Regions from separate parts of the Homo sapiens genome. Here regions 1, 2, 4, 5 and 6 are each linked to region 3. The links are contacts of gene promoters, found by promoter capture Hi-C in blood cells and fetal thymus (Javierre and others, 2016). All regions are on one chromosome and are shown on one strand. Each heading gives the region's core, a stretch centred on a gene start or on the middle of the fragment in contact. The rest is flanking DNA. Distances are from core to core; before and after follow the strand shown.

What was found. The method cuts DNA at HindIII sites, captures the fragments that hold promoters and counts their contacts. A CHiCAGO score of 5 or more calls a contact.
Region 1: a fragment that was not itself captured here is called in contact with the fragment with the promoter of C3orf52 in region 3 in 1 of 17 cell types (endothelial precursors); the score reaches 7.7 in endothelial precursors.
Region 2: a fragment that was not itself captured here is called in contact with the fragment with the promoter of C3orf52 in region 3 in 2 of 17 cell types (non-activated CD4 T cells and M2 macrophages); the score reaches 6.0 in non-activated CD4 T cells.
Region 4: the fragment with the promoter of BTLA here is called in contact with the fragment with the promoter of C3orf52 in region 3 in 2 of 17 cell types (non-activated CD4 T cells and naive CD4 T cells); the score reaches 6.4 in non-activated CD4 T cells.
Region 5: a fragment that was not itself captured here is called in contact with the fragment with the promoter of C3orf52 in region 3 in 4 of 17 cell types (total CD4 T cells, naive CD8 T cells, naive CD4 T cells and 1 more); the score reaches 6.2 in total CD4 T cells.
Region 6: a fragment that was not itself captured here is called in contact with the fragment with the promoter of C3orf52 in region 3 in 2 of 17 cell types (non-activated CD4 T cells and total CD4 T cells); the score reaches 6.0 in non-activated CD4 T cells.

What each region holds. Positions count from the first base shown.
Region 1 is chr3:111,697,915-111,701,434 of GRCh38, reverse strand. All of the region lies in intron 1 of PLCXD2 (phosphatidylinositol specific phospholipase C X domain containing 2), which reads right to left. Among named protein-coding and RNA genes, the nearest start is that of PLCXD2-AS1, 22 kb to the right of the region's middle. The HindIII fragment of the contact is 872 bases long and covers 1,362-2,233 here.
Region 2 is chr3:112,474,923-112,478,336 of GRCh38, reverse strand. The region is part of intron 2 of BTLA (B and T lymphocyte associated); the gene reads left to right. Among named protein-coding and RNA genes, the nearest start is that of BTLA, 23 kb to the left of the region's middle. The HindIII fragment of the contact is 4,154 bases long and covers 1-3,414 here.
Region 3 is chr3:112,084,791-112,088,018 of GRCh38, reverse strand. It overlaps C3orf52 (chromosome 3 open reading frame 52), which reads right to left and starts at 1,630. Exons shown (of 6, transcript NM_024616.3): 1 at 1,474-1,630. The coding sequence starts at 1,611. RefSeq lists silencers at 1,716-1,765, 1,786-1,835, 1,886-1,935 and an enhancer at 1,452-1,968. The HindIII fragment of the contact is 3,182 bases long and covers 1-2,593 here.
Region 4 is chr3:112,498,003-112,501,302 of GRCh38, reverse strand. BTLA (B and T lymphocyte associated) reads left to right here and starts at 1,831. Exons shown (of 5, transcript NM_181780.4): 1 at 1,831-2,032. The coding sequence starts at 1,945. RefSeq lists enhancers at 2,110-2,239, 2,330-2,379, 3,248-3,300. The HindIII fragment of the contact is 2,386 bases long and covers 449-2,834 here.
Region 5 is chr3:112,514,232-112,517,735 of GRCh38, reverse strand. No RefSeq gene overlaps it. Among named protein-coding and RNA genes, the nearest start is that of BTLA, 17 kb to the right of the region's middle. The HindIII fragment of the contact is 7,313 bases long and covers 1-3,504 here.
Region 6 is chr3:112,546,192-112,549,824 of GRCh38, reverse strand. It overlaps ATG3 (autophagy related 3), which reads left to right. Exons shown (of 12, transcript NM_022488.5): 5 at 1,185-1,292. Among named protein-coding and RNA genes, the nearest start is that of ATG3, 14 kb to the left of the region's middle. The HindIII fragment of the contact is 5,639 bases long and covers 1-3,633 here.

The DNA of each region.
Region 1 (3,520 bases), core at 548-3,047, 390 kb after region 3:
TACACAGATAGGCAGGCCCCTTTCTGGACTCTGTTCACTTTTGCTGATACTCTGTAAAATATTTTCTCACCCCAAATATGTCTATATTTTCTCCCCAGCATTTGTAACCCATATTGAGTAAGTTGCTTTTTCCATGTCTCAGTTTCCTCATCTGTCAAATGGGCCAATAGTACCTATTGTCACAAAATTATTGTGAATATTGAAATGTAAGCAAAGTGCTTTGAACAATACTGACACTTAGTAAGTGCTGAACTGTAATTATTGCTATTATTAGCCATTTTTAATTAGTCAGAAATCAGAGTGTGAAGGGCTGATTAACTGAAGCTTCTTGCCTTAAATACTGATGGTCTAGAAGATTTTATTTTCTGTACCTGATTCATTGTTCCTCTCTATCTTATTAGCTGACATGGAGATGAAAACTTAGCCTCCACTCTGTTGACTATAGCCACCACCACTGTTTTGGTCACAGTCTAAGTTTGTCATCACCCACATTGAAAATCTTAAAATTTAATTTCTGACTTTTTGATCACAAGTTTCTTTACTTCTGCCACGCTGCAACCTGACTTTTATATTCTGCCCCTGACCCCCCGCCCCGCCCTACACAGTCTGAGAGCCCACAGCATTGGCTTTACTTCATCCTTCAGTTATATCCAAGATCATCCACTTGCCAGTTTTCACCTGCAGAATTATTAATTATAACTATCTGAAAGCTGTTAAGAGCCTGCTGAGGTATATTGTCTGTCTATACAGTCCTGAAATACACATACGAATATTAATATGACATTTTCTAACACACCTTTTTACTAACAACAAATTTTTTTTTTCCTCTTCTCCAATATATTTCATTTATAGAGGAGAAGCAATATGATCTTAGGAAGTAATTGGCATCAAATACTAAATGACTGTTTTCAGACTTCTCTGTGCTGAGAATTTTATGGTCATCTAAAAACTATTCCATATATAGCAGTAAATATGGACATACAAGTCCCTCCTTAATGTTCTATATGCATAGGACTAATTTTAGCCCTTAGAAAGGTGAAGTTTTTTTCCTCCAGTTTCTAGAAATTGACTTTTCTCTAATCCTTTCATTTTCACAATTACTACCCCTGTTTCTTCCTATTTTCTTTTACAGTCAACAGTCATTAACGGTGTTTCTTTTTCCTTTCTGTGTGCATACAAAAATCCTGAATCATGTATGTGAAAGCACTTTATAATGTAAAGTGGTGATCCTCAACCTTAGATGCATATCAGAATCACTGGGAGGTGGCAGAGCAGGGGGCGCTTTTAAAAAACACCAGTGCCCATGAGCTCACCCCAAACCTTCTAAGTCAAAATCTCTCTGGGACGGAAGCTGACAAGCTTCTTGCTGATTCTAATGTATACCCAGGCTTGATACTTACAGCCACAAATGTAAGATTATAGTTTCCCAAAAGTTCTCTGATTTCTGGGCATGGTCTTCTCTGGCTGGACTTCTAGTACTTTCAAACCTTCAAATAATAATCTGGTGAAGTGCCTTTCCCATGTATTGGTAGATGCTTTCTTCATCACTCCTTTTGTTCTAAGATACACCCTGCCCTTTAACCAATTAAATAACCACAGCTTGTTTGTGAAGAAGAAAAATATTGGGAGGCCTTGGTTTCCTTATCATGCCTCCTAGTATGTGATTAGATTAGGTTACTTAAGGTTTACTAGGATCCTTGGGATGTGCGCTAGGTTACAGAGCTCAGAATCAAGTCCCTGTGGCAGCAAAGTCACACGGGAAGAGAGAGATTTGAATGCGAAAAGGTTAGCAAGATTTTTACTCAGTGTTATAGTTATTGCCTCCTAGGTAGTGTTAGATTATTTGAGAGGTAAGGTATGAGAAAATGAGCTAGCTGGCCTTGTGAAGACCAGGCACAATCAGTTTGCTCTTTATCTGGAACACAAATTACTGCTTGATTCTTCCTGAGGGTTGCCATTTGGGGATTAGAGATCTCAAATGAGTGCATTCTAGTTTTTAAAGCACTTTCATTACCCATTTCTTGCAAATTGGAGTAGCTGCCATTTTCTGAGCTCAAATAAAAAGAATTTAAAGCAGGCTTCTTGGGAACCTGGTTTATAAATAAAACAAAAAGAATTCAAAACACACACTATGAAATGATACATTTCATTACAGTACAATGGCATTTCAGATTACATGATGACCACACTTGTAGCCATGGAGGGAAGATTGAGACAAGAGTTAAGTGAAGCTTATAAGAAGATAGAGAGAAACTCCCCATCTGGGTAGGTGAGGATGGTGACCCTAAGTCAAAGAACTCCTGACTTCACATATTTAAGAAAACCTCCTGTCTTCACCTCCCTTAGGTCCTCCTGTCTCTAAGTCCTTCTAACTTTGAAGCCCATTAGTTCCTGCAGGTGCTTCACTGATCCCACTCTCCCCACCCCATGTGTATTGACACCATTCAGTGTATCTGTGCCTTTAGGCACTGACATTGCAAAAATTTGTTCTTAGGGAGTGAAAAATCTTATTCTTCTATGTACAAAGTACAGATACATCTGAGTGTTATAATTTCACAGGGGAGGAGGGGGGGAAATAAGGAATAGAAATGCCTAATAAGACTCCTTCAGGGAGTGATTATGAACAAAAGGCTGAGACAGACCACCACCCTAGACTGAGGTTCCTGGCTTGTCTGGGCTGAACCTCTGACACTGTCTCTTTTTATCCTTAATTGGCCTGCCTCTCAATGCCTCCAGCAATGTTTCCCTCCCATCCATAAGGTGACCCAGTACTGGAAGGTTCTATTCCCATCCCCTGTCTCTAGAACACTAATGGGTTGGGAACCACTGAATTTCTTCTTTTCCAGTAATCTTTTTAAGTATTCTCACTTGCAATTTCCAGGACTACCAACAAATCATTTTTCTGTCTACACAGTCCCAAAGGACTCAGACTTGCACTTTGTAAGATACTAGTTAAGAAAGAACTTCACAAATGGTGAGTCCTAACACCTAACTTAGTGAATTACCATAGCTCTGAATAAGCTAAATGGAGTGTCCCCGCAGTGGATAGGGGCACAGAGTCTGTTGTCAGGCTGCCTGAGTTCATAATCCTGGCTCTACTGCCTACTAGTTATGTGAATAAAATGCTGGGCCTCAGTTTCCTCATCTGCACAATGTGGACAACAGCAGTACTAACTTCATTGGTCTGTTGTGAAGACTAAATGAGTTAACTCAGGCAAACACCCAGAAGAGTCCTTGGCTAATAGAATGAGCTCAAACATGTTATTATTATTAATTATTAAGAAATTTGTGTCATCTTTTATTTGGATGATACTATCTGAGAAACAAATAATTCTGGTTTTTAAATAAAGCCATGAAACCTCAGTAAATATTTATATTTGAGGATCTGTCATGGCAATTAACATTTAGGGCTAGGAAAAATGAAGTCTGTAGTTTAAGTCATTTATTTTAGGTTACACCCAAAATCAACATCAAAAGGAGTAAGTTTGGATCATAGTATTCTACAGTTGAAATTCAAATT
Region 2 (3,414 bases), core at 324-2,823, 390 kb before region 3:
AGAGTTGTACACTGAACAAAGAAAGCATGGCTGAAAGAAATTCAAGAATATGTAAATAAATGCAAAGACATTCTGTATTCATGGACTGAAAGATGTAATATTGTAAAGATAGCAATATTCCCCAAGGTGATCTACAGATTCAATGCAGTTCCACTAAAATCCTAACAGCTTTTTGTTGCTATTGCAGAAATAAAAAAGCTGATCCTAAAATTCACATTGAGTTGCAACAGACCCAGAATTGCCAAAACAATCTTGAAAAAGAACAAAACTGAAGCTAAGACTTCCCTATTTCAAAACTTACTACAAAATGACAGTTAAAAAAAAAAAAAAAGAATAGTATTGTCATGGATAGACAAAGAGATCAATGTAAATAGAATTGAGAGTCCAGAATAAACTCCATACATCCGTAGTCAATTGATTTTTGATAAGGGTACCAAGATTATTCAGTGGGGAAAGAATAGTCTCAATAAATGGTGCCAGGATAATTGGATATTCATATGTAAAAGAATTAATTTGAACCCTCATCTCACTCCATATTTTAAGCAATCAAAATAAGTCAGACATTTAAGTAGAAGAGCTAAAACTATAAAAACTGCATTATATAAAACAATAAAACTCTGATTTCTTAGGAGAAAACATAGGGATAAATGTTTCTGATCTTGGATTTAGCAGTGTTTTCTTAGCTATGATTACAAAAGCATAATCAACAATAACACCAAAAATAGATAAATTGGACTTCATAAAAATTAAACACTTCTGTGCATCAAAAGATACTAAAATTCAACAACAAATAGACTGGCAACCTAATTTTAAAATGAGCAAAGGACTTGAATAGACATTTCATCAAAGAAAATATACAAATGGCCAATAAACATATGAAAAAAATGCTCAATGTCATTAGTTACTGGAGAAATGCAAATCAAAGTCACAGTGAAAACCCACTTCACACCCATCGAATGACTAGAATAAAAAAAAAAAACACAGAAAATAATAAGTGTTAGCAAGGATGTGAAGAAATAGAAACCCTATCCATTGCTGAGGAGAATGTAAAATGGTGCAGTCACTTTAGAAAGTGGTCTAACAGTTCCTCAAAATCAAAAGATAAAACCTACTTGTCACAGTACCCAGTAATTCTATTCCTAGGTAAATACTCAAATGAAATTAAAATATATGTTCACACAAAACCTTGTTCCTGAATGTTTATCACAGCACTATTCACAATAGCCAAAAGGTAGAAACAACCTAAATGTTCAGCTGATGAATGGATAAAGGAAATGTAGTTTATCCACACACGGAATATTATTCAGTCATGAAAAGGAATGAAGTACTAATGTATGCTACAACATTGATGAACCTCAGAAGCATTACGCTAAGTAAAAGAAGAAAAAGGTTACATACAATGTGATTCTGATTATATGAAATATCCAAAATAGGCAAATCCATAGAGACAGAAAGTAGCTTGGTGGTTGCCAGGGGCTGAGGAAATAAAGAATGTGACATGACTACTAAATAGGTAGAGGGCTTCCTTTTGGGGTGATAAATATGTTCTGAATCTAGATCGTAGTCACGTTTGCAAAACATTGTGAGTATCTTACATGCCATTTAATTGTACATTTTAAATGATTAAATTGGTAACTTTTATGTTATATGTATTTTACCACAATAAAAATATATTTGGATCAAAGAAGAGTGCCCTTTAATTATAAGAAATAATGTGGAGTTTCTTTTGTTGCTCATAAATTGACCCTTAAAGTTACTGGGAAGGAGAAATTTCAAAAGAGGGTTATTGCAATAGCAGCATGGCTGAACTCTGGATGCAACCTCGTACAGTTTAGTTCCTTTATGGACATCATTCACTTGAATGCATACATTTTACAACTGATCTTTTTAAAATTAATTTGTTACTTTATATGCTTACTTTTGAGTGTCTTTCAACTCCCTTAAAGTAGCCCAGTGAAGGAATCCATTGAAATTCTTTTAAAATGCTTTAGGTTAGTTTAAAATTTCTTACAGCAGCACCATGAAAAAATGCATAGCAGTTTAGCAGTAGCTACAACCCTCAATTATGAAATATAGAAGAAATCGATGGCAGAGTTAGGGACTCTGCTTTTGCAAATATAGCGTGAAGCTCGGTGCTAGTTACTTGTGACCATCCATGCACTGGCTTATAAACCTCTTCAGGATGGAAGCTGTGTCTTAAACATCTTTGCTCTGTATGATGGATGGCAGGGTACCTGGCACATGGTAGGGGCTCACTAAATATTTCTTTGTAAATGAATTAAAGAACATAGTATATGCAAAGCACAAAAATTGTCTTCATCAACCTGGAGAAGGCTATATTAAGGATGTATGGAATGAACACTTTCTGGAAAGAATTGCATTATTAATTCACATTAATGAGACAAAATATTGAATTTTTAACAAATACTATTTTTTAAACAGGTAAAATAAATTACAAAAATAAGGAAAATCTGCAAAATATTAATTCTAGAATGATATATACTATTGAATAAATAAGTGCTATTAACTAATTTATATAATATATTAACATAATGTATAATAAAATTAAATTTTGAGGCATTGAGTCCACCTTCCTTGGAAGAGAAGCCTTGTGTAATTCAGTCTTTCTTTATGGGAACTAATCTACTTCTATACGAGACATGAATTTAGCCAAGGTCAGATGAAAGGTCAGAAGTTAATAATTAATTGTGATACAAAAGTCTGTTACACAAAAGTAGCATTGCAATTTCTGCTCTATCCCATATTTGGGTCATTCATGATGACTAAAGATAATCTGTAGTTTGTAAAGTGCATAAAGGTGCCTGTTCTAGGGATCAAGTTGGGGCTGAGATTAGGATCAACAATCTATCTATTTTGTGGAGGAAAGAACCCAACTTTAGGGGAAAGGGAATAACATTCCCTCCTAAATCCTGTGCCTTGGGGGGTTTTATGGAACAAAGTATGTGAAGTATGAAGTGGTGAAAGAGAAAGTCTAAGAGCTAAATAGGAGACATGAAGGGCCTTGTCAGTTTCTTTTTGAACATTTCTACTCTCTTAGTTTCCTACTCACCTATCCTTCCTATCACTCCCTTCCTTATCAGTTTGTTAATTAATGCTCTTGATCCTCATGGAAAATCCCAGAGAATTTTCTTTGGCTTCCTACTCTTGTCTCTCCACAACATTCCACTCTGTGATGTGTTTCCTCCAATTGCTTCTATAAGCATCTCGCACCATCATTATCTTCCTTCTAAATAATTCCAATTAATTCTATGATTGGACTCTTTGTCTTTAGTATTTCCCCATTTTGGTCAATTTCAGCCAAATACACTTAAATTACCTCATACACTTCCTTCATAACAACACTCTCTTGCATAGCATCCCCAGTGGTCACAATATTGGGCTCATCTTTGTTAA
Region 3 (3,228 bases), core at 381-2,880:
ACTGATAACCCTGCATGGATTTGGCTTGTTCTACCCACCACCTGTTTTCAACAAGGCATTCCCAGGCCTCACAGAAGGCCGAGTAGGCACACATTACCACTACGGGACAGGCTTGCCTCTGGGACACACTTCTTAGTGGCAAAACTGTCACCAGATTTCTGGATTCAGCCCCAAGCTAGGGAGTCTTTAGGGTGTGCGGGTCCATCTAATCTGAGGCAAGTATTTCCAACTCCCATTCCTGGACACCGCCCTGGAGGACTCATACAGCCAGTTCACAGTTGTGGCCACTTGCACTGGTGACCAGACTATCTTTGTTCAACCTTCATTCTTCTGTGGCATTCATATTTTATTCAGAAATAAGTTTCCAAATTACTCTCCAGAGTACCTATAAAAGCAGACTTTGCAATAGTTCCAGGAATCAATGTAGAACAAAAGCAATGCTTTCAACTTTTGAATTTCCTGCTTATCCCTAAAATCAACAGCTGGGCAGCCAAAAAGTTGGGGGTGGAGGAGTGGGGCCTAGAAAGATCAGGTCGGGGCTCTATATGGGGAGTTCTGTGCACCCAGAAAACCTCAAGCCAATCTTAGGAGTTAATCAGAAGGTGGATGGCTGGGAAGTCAAAGCTCTGATGTTTTACAAGTCTTTGATGAGAGTGAATAATGTTCCCATCATTGCTAGGGATGAATCAGAAAAGAGCTTGGCCTAAAAATAGCCAGGGACTTCCTTAGGGATTGAGAGGAGGTAAAAGCAAGGTGGGCGAAGTCTCAACCTTCGAGACAAGAACTTTGAAATTATTTTCTTTCAATTGAGCAGGGCAAGTTCACCTCCCCCGCGCCGACCCCCTAACCCGCCCGCCCCATCTCTACGCCAGCCCTACCCCTTCTCCCCTTCTGACCGCTTTCTCTCCTCTGTGCTCTCCCCTATCTCTCTTCCGGCAGAATCCAATGGCCAGGCTGGGAGAAGGCAGAAAGTGCTTGGCGGATGGTAGGCATGGAAGAAGGCTGGGGGCTGCGGCGAGGTGGGTGGAGGGGAGGGAGAGAAGTGGCAAGGCAGTGAAGGTAAGAGGAGGACAGAAGAGATTCTGAGAGAAGGAGGATACTCAATTTGTCATTCTCATTCTCCCTACTGGAAAAAAGAAAAACTGAATTAAAAGTTACATAACTTTAAAAAACTACTTCCATCTCCGGAATACCTCTCTGAAGACAGCAGCGGCCACACCTCACCACTAGGATTCCTAAAGCGCCTCGGGGGTCAGAGGGGTTGGAGGACCCCAGGGGCTGGGGAGGGGACTGCTCGGGCCGAAAGGTGTCGCGGTGACTCGGCTCCATTCAGAGCACTCGAGCGCGCCCCACCCTCGCTCGGCGCCGTCGACGCCCCGCCTGACTGGAAACCCGAAACTCGCGGGTGCCAGGCCCGGGTCCTACTACTGTCCCGCCGCCGGCAAGTTAGGGCCAGCGCCAAGGGGACCTTACCTCGGCCGGGGGGACCTCCTCGTCCAAAGAAGGGAAGACCTTGTCGGCACCATTGAGAGGCGTGTTCTCTTCTGGCTGCCGCTCGAGCACCGAGAGCTCCAGCTCGTCTACTGGCTGTGAGGGTTGGGCCAGGTCCATGTGCCGGCAGGGAAAGTCTGAGCGGCTCCGCGGGAGGCCACAGCGCCGGCGAGTCGAGCGACCTCCCCGCCTCACACTCCACCCACTGGGCGGGGCGTCGCGGACCTCGGGCGGCGGGAGCGGACCGGAGCGGACAGGAGGGGCAACTGTGAGTGGCGGCCACTCCCTGGATCCCGCGGGGTAGAGCACCTGAGGCCGTGCCGGAGTGGGCTCCAGAGCCGAAGGCTGTTTTTCTGATTTGTTCAGGGCGCTGCCTGCTATGCCTTTCCCCGCGCCTGCAGATGCAGACCATCTCCGTTTAGGGGCTGCCTGGGTGCCGGGCTGTGGTAAGGAAAGGGTGGGCCCGGCAGCACCGTCCAACGGAGAAAAGTTTGCGATCTAACCCTACGAACTGTTGGTTGTTGGGGTTTGCCACAGTCCTCGCGGCCTAGCAAAAGTGCATTCATTCAATCAACAAATAACCATGCCTCGTGCCAGCATGGTGCTAGGTTCTGAGTGCATGAAGGTGAATAATATACACCAACACACTTCCTCGCAAGTCCAGAGTCAGGCACAGAGACAGTATTGTGTGGTGCTGGGGACAGCGGACTCTAAAACCAGTGTACCTGGGTTATTCTCCACCCAGAGGGTTCCTCACTGTGAGACCTCGGTCTTCATCTCTCTGTGCCAACGTCCTCATCTGGAAAGTTGGTGTAATATTTGTACCCTCCTAAATGTAGTTGTTACCAGGATTACAAGGGTTGTTGTAAGCAAAGCACTCAGAACAGTGATTGACACAGCAAGCACTCATAAATGACCATTATTATTTATCTTTGAGAGGAGGGGCCTTACACACACACACACACACACACACACACAATGCACGCGCACACACAATCTCCTTGACACCCTATCTGTAGTTCAGAACTTCCGGTTTAGTTAGCATGGAATTATGTTTGTTAAGCACAGCATGGGTTGGGCCAAGGGCCTCAACTCTCAAGCTTCTGTTCCGAATAGTCTTGCTCCTTACTTCTCACCCTCCACGCAACACACACACACACACACACACACACACACACATTAAGACCAGACCATTAACAAGAAGCATATAAATCAGCTCCACTCCAAATATGTTGACTTGAGTCCAAAAGTCTGGCATCTTCAGTACCTGATGTTGAGACACAGCCTAGATATCCTGTCTCCAGCAGTCTGATGCCTGCTACCAGATCCCCTGAACTTTGGATCCATCTGCCTGCTAAGGGGAGTCTGCAGTGACTCATCTGCTGACCTGCACTGACTTCTGCTCCAACAGGTGGATCTTGCAAGAATCAGGCTGCATTCTCAGCTGGGATTTTTGAACAGGTTTTTTAACCAAGGAGCAAGGGTTAAGGGAATCAACAAGGCATGGTGACGTACCCAGGGACTAGCAATAGCGAGAAGCTGTTAACACTCCTAGGCCTAAAAGGGACTGGAGACTGATAAAGAACTAGAGCCATTGAAGGGTGTGGGAATTTGCAGGGAGGTCTTGATAGGATCTGTAGTCACGAAAACATGCAGACCTGACTGGAAGCACTGACACCTCTCAAACTTCTGATTCTCCCCACCCCCATCCTTACCCAGGGTCCAGAAAACTTTTCT
Region 4 (3,300 bases), core at 582-3,081, 410 kb before region 3:
AAGTTATAAGCTTAAGGCAAGATTGACTTGTTACTGAGCTAATTAATTTCTGAGTCTGGCTTCTTTCCTTTTTTTTTTTTTTTTTTTAACTAGAACGAAGACAGGAGTGAGATTCAGAGGCAGGGTTTTATCTACAGTGGGACACTCAGGACTCTACCTGTGGAGGGATAAAGTGCTAGGCATGCTAATAAAAGCAAGAAATATATAAATCTTTTAAAAATACATTAGATGCTACATAAGATTTTTTCCGAATTTTGTCTAATTAGCATGGACTTTTTATATGAAAAATATTTAAAATAGTGACATAACAGTTTTAAGCTGAGATAAAGTTAATATGATCTCTCTCTGGTTTGGGCTTATGTAACCCATAAGCCATAAGGTTATGGCTTTTGACCTGTGGGCCATTTTAAAGGGACAATGAGCCTTGCTTCAGCTGCCTCAAGAAGCTTTTACTCACTGTGAACACAGGAAAAGGAAGGAGCTGTGAAAATACTGCCTTAATATTTCCCAGGATGTTTATTTGATTAGTAACAGAAATTCTAAAAGGCTATGTGTACCCTCTCTGTATTATACTATATTATAAGACCAACACTAAAGGTGGATGTGAGGAAGTCGTAATACTGATTGAACGAGTTCTTTAAAATCAGCAATAGCAACTCATTCATCATTCATCTCCAACCATAGCACATTGTCTATTTGACTCAATAAATACATGATAACTGTTTTTTAATTTTAATTTACCCTTGGCAACTCAACTGGGAGCTCTGAATTAAGTATTGCCCATCAGTTTCCCATGTCAGGTCAAAATGTCCAGCAATCTATACACTTTCCTTGCTCTTAAAACTTTCCTTGAACTTAAAACTATTGAAGTTTGGCCTTGGAATAAAATCATCAGTCTCTGAGGAAAAAACTTATATAATCGACTTCTGTCAATGATCACTAATGCCACAAATCTAGATCTCTCATTTGGAGTCTCAAATGGCAGATGAATTTGATTAGCTCCTATGACTATAAGCTAAGCTAATTATTACAAGTGGATGTGGAGAAAACAGTCCTATGGTGGCCTGTGCTATCTGATCTTGAACTTTTCCATTTCTTCCTTTACTGTTTCTATTCTACTTCATCGAGACAACAACTGCATGAAGAATGTTTAAAATGGAAATTTCCTTTAATTGATATTCAAGATCTCCTTTAGATTAGAACTTTATTATCTAGAGAGAACATGTAGCCAATATTAATGATGATCTTGTTCCATTGATATGTATCCACAGATTAAAGACGGCTGCTCTTCCTTCTTCTGTTGAGGAAGTGCTTCCTGTCACTCATTTTCTCCATAACCTGAGATAAATCTTCACTGGTTTAATGACAATAAGCATCCTCATCTTACCGTGACATGTACAGGAAAAAAAAGAAACCTAAAATCTTTTACATAAAAGAAGTTTCATAATCACAAGCTATCACAAAGGGGAAAATGTATACTTACCATTGATAGTTTTACCATAAATTTCCTGACCTTAATTTGATTAAAATCTCAACTTAAAGACTGCAACAATACAGATTTCTTTAAAGTTTAATTGCTCATTTCACTGAACATTGAGTGCAGGAAAAACCTCAACCTGGGGCAAAAACGTGGTAGAGCGGAAGGAGAAGTTAAGGACTGAGCTGCTTTGCAGATCACAGTGTTTGAAAGTGAACAGCCAACCTGACAAGAAGCAAAAACCACAGAACAGAGTACCACATCGTCTTTCTGTTCACTTTTTTTCACAAAATCATCCAGGCTCTTCCTACTCTCCTCTCTTACCACCTCTCTCTTCTTTTTTTTTTTTTTTTAGTTATTTCACAGATGCCACTGGGGTAGGTAAACTGACCCAACTCTGCAGCACTCAGAAGACGAAGCAAAGCCTTCTACTTGAGCAGTTTTTCCATCACTGATATGTGCAGGAAATGAAGACATTGCCTGCCATGCTTGGAACTGGGAAATTATTTTGGGTCTTCTTCTTAATCCCATATCTGGACATCTGGAACATCCATGGTAAGGCACCTGCTTAGGTTATTTCTGGTTTTATTTCTCAGGGGGTCTTGGAGGCAACATTCTCCCTTGCTGAACTTAGTACGGTGTAACGTTTATACGAAGTGGGTAATCGTAGATGAAACCAAGCTGTTACATTTGCTTACCGAAGACATCGTAGAGCATAAACCAAATTAGAACATAGTATTCACCTGCCTAATCATAGGCATCGCATCAATAGCTTGGCTGACTTTCTTAAAAACATGTTGATGGTAGGAAAAGAGAACTGAGTAGATGTTATAAATAGTTAAGTACAAATCTATCACTACTTCTTGCAAAAATGCTCTGGCTGCCATACTGATAATGAATAGATAGCTCGTTCTTTCCAAACTGAGTGCAGTAGAGTGCTGCAGTGCTCAGTTGGGTAGGACAGTTGTTGGATAATCGGAATTATACATATCTCCATGGTTACCCTCAAATAATATTACCTCTAAATAAAATCTCTATACTTGCTTCATTGGGATGTATGCCTTGAGAATACCGATTGAGAAAATGCTACAAAATATAGGAGCAGAACTTTTCGTCATTGCTTCTATTTTGTTGAAAGGGAATGGTTCCTACTTGGTTGTCAATTGAACACAGAAAATAAGTTGGATTCTGCAAAGATGATATTTAGCCACCCCTGCAAAGACTTTATACAGGCAAAAAAAAAAAAAAAAAAAAAAAGGCAATTTCTTTTTTATTGTAAAGTCGCTTCCTACCTTATATTGCATAGGAACCCACATATTATCAAGAGGAAAAGCCTATGAGTGGCTCATCAGAAGCTTCTGATTTTTCAGGTTTTATTTTTTTATTTTTTTGAGACAAGAGTTTTGCTCTCGTCACCCAGGCTGGAGTGCAATGGCGTGATCCCGCCTCACTGCATCCTCTGCCTCCCGGGTTCAATCGATTCTTCTTCCTCCCGGGTTCAATTTATTCTCCTGCCTCAGCGTCCCTAGTAGCTGGGATTACAGGCACCTTCCACCACGCACAGCTAATTTTTGTATTTTTAGTAGAGATGTTGGATAACCCCAATTATCCAACATCTGTCCTACCCAACTGAGCACTGCAACACTCTACTGCACTCAGTTTGGGAAGAACGAGCTATCTATTCATCATCAGTGTGGCAGCCTGAGCATTTTCGCAAGAAGTAGTGATAGATTTGTACTTAACTATTTATAACATCTACTCAGTTCTCTTTTCTTGCCATCAACCTGTTTTTTAAGAAAGTCAGCCAAGCTATGGATGCAATG
Region 5 (3,504 bases), core at 88-2,587, 430 kb before region 3:
ACTGTTCTTATTTCTCCACAGCCTCACCAGCATCTGTTGTTTTTTGACTTTTTAGTAATCACCATTCTGACTGGTGTGAGATGGTATCTCATTGCGGTTTTGATTTGCATTTCTCTAATGATCAGGGATGTTGAGCTTTTTTTCATATGTTTGTTGGCTGTACTTCTTTTGAGAAGTATCTGTTCATGTCCTTTGCCCACTTTTTAATGGGGTTTTTTTTTTCTTGTAAATTTGTTTAAGTTCTTTGTATACTCTGGATATTAGACCTTTGTCAGATGGATAGATTGAAAATGTGGTACATATACATCATGGGATACTATGCAGCCATAAAAAGGAACAAGATCATGTCCTTTGCAGGAACATGGTTGGATCTGGAAGCCATTATCCTCAGCAAACTAACACAGGAACAGAAAACCAAAGGCCACATGTTCTCACTTATAAGTGGGAGGTGAACAGTGAGAACACATGGACACAGGGAGGGGAACAACACACCCTGGGGCCTGTCGGTGGGGGTTGGGGGAGGGAGAGCATCAAGAAAAGTAGTTAGTGTATACTGAGCTTAATACCTAGGTGATGGGTTAATAGGTGCAGCAAACCACCATGGCACATGTTTACCTGTGTTTACTTATGTAACAAACCTGCACATCCTGCAGGTTATGTACCCTGGAATGTAAAATAAAATAAAAAACTAAAGTTCAGATCTTGAAATTGTAAAACAGAGAACATAAAGCAAACACACTTAATATGTTACAAAGAAAATGAGAAATGCAAAAATAATAATAATAATAATACTTATTAAAGCACAGTGAAGAAGACTTTATTCAGGACCATTGCAATAGGTATAGGTAACACCACAATGAGATTTTGCAGCCTGGGAGAAAGATTGGACTTAATTCCAAACACAGCATGGGCAAGTGGGAATTTATAGCCAAGGAGCAGGGTGGGGGTCAATGGATGGAAAATTACTAAAAGGAAACATCAGGGGTGAGGAAGATTTCAGCTAAACCAACTTCACAGGATTCTTGCTAAAAACAGAACAAGGTGATTTATTACCTGTGGGATAGTGGAGGATGAGGAACTTGATCAGATGTCACGGTTGATCAGCTACTGGGGGAGAGGGGTTCTTACTAAATGAGTTTTTGGATAAAGCAGATTTTACAAGGAGGTGCACAGATGGGCCTAGGAGAAGGTTAGGGAGCCTGACTGAAGTTTGGTCAAGTTAGAATCTGTGTCAATATCTGTACAAAATTCCTCTTCTTACAAGGACATAAATCATATTCGATAAGGGCCTACATTACTGACTTCATTTTAACTTAGTTACCTCTTTAAAGACCCTATTTATAAACATAGTCACATTATTAGGTATTGGGTATTAGAAGTTCAGCATGAAATTTGGTGTAACACACTTCAGTCTATAATGATCACATAAAAAATCTTGGAGATCAATCCATACAAACACATAAAGGCTGCTTCATTTTATTTCATTATTGGACTATATTTCCTTCTCCTTCTGTCTTACTCCCCCCTACACAACCTCAAATAATAATTAGTGCTTTTGTAAAGGATTATGAGTTCATTGTAAAAATTGCAAACAAGTACAAAGAAGAAAATAAAAAATCAGGTTCATTATTATCTCTTGGAGCTAATATTTTTGACATTTTGATGAATATTCTTTTAATGAGCCCTTTGTGTCTAAATACATATATAGATGTATATGTTCATGAATATATGTAAATGAGTATATGGATATGTATGCATTAACCAAAACTGGGATTGTACCATTTATGTATTCCTGTAATCCTCGTCACTAAACAATATGAGGGGACCGTCTTCTTTAAGAAATATATTAATAGATCTATATTATGATTAACAATGCTTACCTAGTATTTAGTTGTATGGATGTTCAATTAATCATCTAACAGGTCATTTAATTTGCTTATATTTTTTCTGTTATAATCAAGACTTATGTCTTGATTACATCTTTGCACACTTGTGTGATAATTCCCATGGAGTAAATTCTTGGAAGTAAGAATACAAAGTTGGCAGCCACTTTACTATTTTAATATATACAATAATTTTAAGCTATCTTCTAAATAGTTTATACTAATTTATACACTCACCACAAAAATTAAAAAAACATGAGTTCTTATATATCTACACTGTCACTAATAATATTAGAATGTATTATTTAGCATTTTTAAAAATAAAATTAGTTTTTATTTGCACTTACAAGTGAAAGCATCTTTTCTCCCAACATTTTATTTACAACATACAACAAAGTTTGAATTCATTTTACAGCAAACACTAATGCACACCATCTTGATTCTACCATTAACATTTTACTATAGTAACAATATAACTATCCTTCTATCTGTACCTTTACCCATCCATTTAATTCATCTTTTAAAATGCATTTTAAAGGAATTTACAGGAATCCATACACTTTACCCAAATTGCAGTTGACCATTGAAAACACAGGTTTGAAATGTTTGAAATGTGCAGGTTGACTTATATGTGGATTTTTTTCAATACATATATTGGAATTTTTTTTGGAGATTTGTGACGATTTGAAAAAACTCAGATGAACCACTTAGCCTAGAGATAACAAAAAAATTAAGAAAAAGTTATGTCATGAGCATATAACATATAACAAAATATAAAAAGTTATTTATCAAAACTGACACAAGCAAACACACACCATACATGGTGCAATTTGAAGTTCAGAAAAATATAAACAAATGTAAAGGCAGTATTAAACTACACAAAATTAACTGTAGTACATACTTGACTCAGCTGAGTGACCAGAGGCCTTGTGGGTGTATCTGGGCAAGGGGTTAGGGGGGTTGAACCCCTGTGCAGCAGCCCTACAGGGAAACACCCAACAAAAATTATTTTTTAAAAAGGCTCATCCAGGAAATGCATATAAGGGCTGGTCACCTGGCGTTTTGAGTCCTCTCACAGGTCATAGACCTCTGGAGAGAGAAACTGAAACACTTAAGAGGGTGAAAATGACTCAATGGTAACACACTGTGGAGTCTTGAGTGCAAGCAGCACACATCACCACACAAAAACGCTAGGCCACAGCTCAGTTATTTTAAGAAAAAAAATGAGAAAATAATAATCTAAGAATGAGGAGAAAACAAGGAGAATGATCCCCTTTCAAGCACTCCATAGGTTTTATGGCACCTCCACTTGCCAGAGTTTATGTGAAATGGAAGTAATATGGTATTTGTGCATATATATGTTAATGAAAAAGAGCACTAAGGTCAACCTGCAAACTATAGAGTTCCTAAGTTCTCTTTTTTCCCTATTTTCCTTTCTGCCAGCTTTAAATCTGCTGTTATTTTTCTATTAAGATACAAAGCACTGTTTGGACTCAGCAAGCTGTTTGTTTGCAAGCAGGTGAATTTGTGTTTGCCTCATGGCTTAAGTTCTGAAGTAAAAGCTATAAGATTTTGTGTGTGTGTGTGTTTGTGTGTGTGCATATTTAAAAGGCCTTTATAA
Region 6 (3,633 bases), core at 202-2,701, 460 kb before region 3:
GTAGTGGTTTTTTTTTTTTTTTTTTTGGTTGTTTTGAGACAGAGTCTCACTTTGTTGCCCAGGCTAGAGTGCAGTGGCCTGATTTTGGCTCACAGGTTCAAGCGATTCTCCTGCCTCAGCCTCCCAAGTAGTTGGGATTACAGGCCTGCCACCACGCCCGGCTAATTTTTGTATTTTTAGTAGAGACAGGGTTTTGCCATGTTGGTCAGGCTGGTCTCGACCTCCTGACCTCAGGTGACCTGCCCACCTTGGCCTCCCAAAGTGCTGGGATTACAGGTGTGAGCCACCGCGCCTGGCTGAAACAGGTAGTGTTTTATTTATGAAGTTAAATTTAAAAACAACATCAAAAGGTTGTTATAGTTCCTAACTAATCACAAAACAATACATTGATTTCTGTTCCAATTTACTCATTATAGGAAAGGGAAAATAAAGTGAACAGAACAGCAGTTTTTTCTTTTCTACAGCATATTTCTTTTTACAAAGGCTGATAATTTATATCCTGATTGTTTTAAAAAAATCAGGAGATTAAAAAGCAATTTGTTGACCTTATACCATAATGCTTTTACCATATAATTACCCAATCTTAGGCTTATGAATAATAATACCTGTTAATTGACACATTTGCTGTATGAACAACTTACTAGTGTGGTATAAAGAAGTAAAAATCAGAAGGTTGGTGAATTTTAAACTGTTTTATCCATTGTGAATAACTGGAACTTAAATATGAATTATAAAATTTATATTGAAAGTTACTTTAGCCTTGAAAACAAGAGTTCACCTTTACCACCACTGACTATGATAGCTGGTAGCTCCATGTTCTGAAAGTAAAGCCATTAAAATAAGGTATTATTATTCATTAGACTGAAATTGAACTATGATATGTATCTCTGACATCAGCCTGCTGTTCTTCACAGACCATCATGGTAAAGGAATGCATAGAACATTCCCAATAGAGCTTTTCTACTTGTCTTCTGACAAAGCAATTTAGGAAAAGGTAAATGTAGCCAAATAATTATGTGTCTATGAGCTGAATGTAACTCTTAATCACCTTTAAAAGTGAAATATTCACTTAGTACTTTGGTGGTATAAACACCCTATTTTATGGACTAAGCTCTCTTCTTTCTAATGGATTTATGGTTAGCAGATTACGTGCTAGTTAACTGTATTTACCATTTTTTTTATAGTGCCGTGCTATAAGCGGTGCAAACAGATGGAATATTCAGATGAATTGGAAGCTATCATTGAAGAAGATGATGGTGATGGCGGATGGGTAGATACATATCACAACACAGGTAAGAGGAGAATAAAATGACATATATTTAGTTTAAATTAAACTCTTTCACAATCTTTTATAATAGCCTTGATTTAAAAAAGAGGATACATAAGGCATAGTTTTGTCCCAATAGACTTACATGAAAAAAGCAGGAGGACAAATTTTAAAAAAGAAGCCTTTAGAGTATGCCAAATTTATTTCTTTTTTTGAGACAAGAGTCTTGCTCTGTCACCAGGCTGGAGTGCGATCTTTGCTCACTGCAACCTCCACCTCCCGGGTTCAAGCGATTCTCCTGCCTCAGCCTCCCGAGTAGCTGGGACTACAGGTGTGCACCCCCACGCCCAGCTAATTTTTGTATTTTTAGTAGAGATGGGGTTTCACCATGTTGGTCATGATGGTCTCCATCTCTTGACCTCGTCATCTGGCTGCCTCGGCCTCCCAAAGTGCTAGGATTACAGGCATGAGCCACTGCGCCCGGCCAGAGTATGCCAAATTTCTATAATACCTGCTACTTCCATTGCAATTTGAAAATATTATTTTCTTAGTTTCTAAATACAGAGAGGGAAAAAAAAGACCGTCAGAGATGCTGAATATGCATACTACTTTGCTTTACAGTCTCTTGCTTACATGTCATTGTCATTCCATTGCTGGATTATGTGCTCCTCTATGACAGGAACTATACTGTATTCACATTTACCCAGAGAACTGACATCTATTAAGTATTTAATAATTATTTGTTAAATAACGACTAAAAGAAATTTTCAGTACTGTAAGCTCCATGAAGGTAAAGATTCATTGTTGAATTCTCAGTATCTATCACAGTGTATGATGTAGAAGTTGTTCAGTAAATATTTGTTAAATGAGTTGAATGCAAGGTTTTTATAAGTGTTTCTATGAGTTATTTGAAACCCTGAATATACTTTTTTATTCTAAGTCCTAAAACACTGTTTTGCCACTATATTTATATAACTATGTACATGCATATTATCATATGCTGCTGAAGCTAACTACCATTTATTACTTAGTTTTGATGAAGAAAATGTGCTCTAAGTTTAAATCCATGATACTAAAAACAAATTTTTCTCCCTTTGAGTCCTAGAGGTTAGGAGTTATATCCTTAGTAGTAGTAATAAAACAGGGTTTCTCAACCTTGGCACTGTTTTTTGGAATGGAAAATGTGCTCTAAGTTTAAGTCCATGATACTAAATATGTTTTTCTCCCTTCGAGTCCTAGAGATTAGGAGGTATATCCTTAGTAGTAATAGAACAGGGTTTCTCAACCTTGGCACTGTTTTTTGGAATGGATAATTATTTTCTGTGCATTGTAGAATGCTTACCAGTATCTCTGGCCTGTAACCACTGGATACCAGTAGCATCCCTCAGTTTTAACAACCAAAAATGCCTCCAGAAATTGCTGAATGTTCTGTTGGGGGAAAAATTGCTGCCTTCAGTTGAGACTCACTGCAGTAGACAGAGGGCTAAGTATCTGCCCAGGTAAAAGTTCCTTCTTAGGTCAGTTTCTCCCCTACTCTGAATAAAGGATACTGCCATCTCTTTCCTTATGGAGTTATAGGCAAAGATTCAGGACTTGGGCTCCTTGATCTGAAATTTATTGGCTTATTAATGAGTCGAGTGCTATATCAAAGCCTAAAGGAAATAACAGATTGAAAAACTTTTAAAAGTAATTTCAAAAATCATCCTTCTTTCCCCCCGCCCCACTGAGTAGTGAAAGTCTTTTAACTCTTCTGCTTTGACTTTTCCATGCCTGGAAGATGTTGGCAACACATCAGTAGGAAATTCTCTGTTGACTGACTGGATCCATTGATTGTGCATTGTTTTTGATGTCAAGTTAGTGACTTATGAGGCCAGATACTGGTTCCTTTTTCAACTCAGTTTCCCTTGCTTTATCCTTGCTTTTCCTGGGCGTTTTCTTCTATTAGCTTGTGTATTAGTCATGGTTCTCTAGAGAAACAACCCATAGGATGTATACAGAGTAGGTTTTGCTTTCTGTGGTTTCAGTTATGTAGTCAACCATGGTCCAAAAATATTAAGTGCCAAATTCCAGAAATAATTCATCAGTTTTAATTTTTGTCCCCACTGTTGGGAGTAGCATGATAAAATCTGCTATCCTGATCCGTTCTGCCCAAGAGGTGAATCATCCCATTGTCTAGTGTATGCATGCTGTATATGCTACCCAGCCATTAGTCACTTAATAGCCAACTCGATTATCAGGTCGACTGTCATGTACAGCGTAGGTAGGGTTTGGTACTATCTGTGCTTTCAGACACCCTCTGGGGGTCTTGGAATGTATTCCCCACAGATAAGTGAGGACTATTGCATAGGTATAGGTATAGATATAGG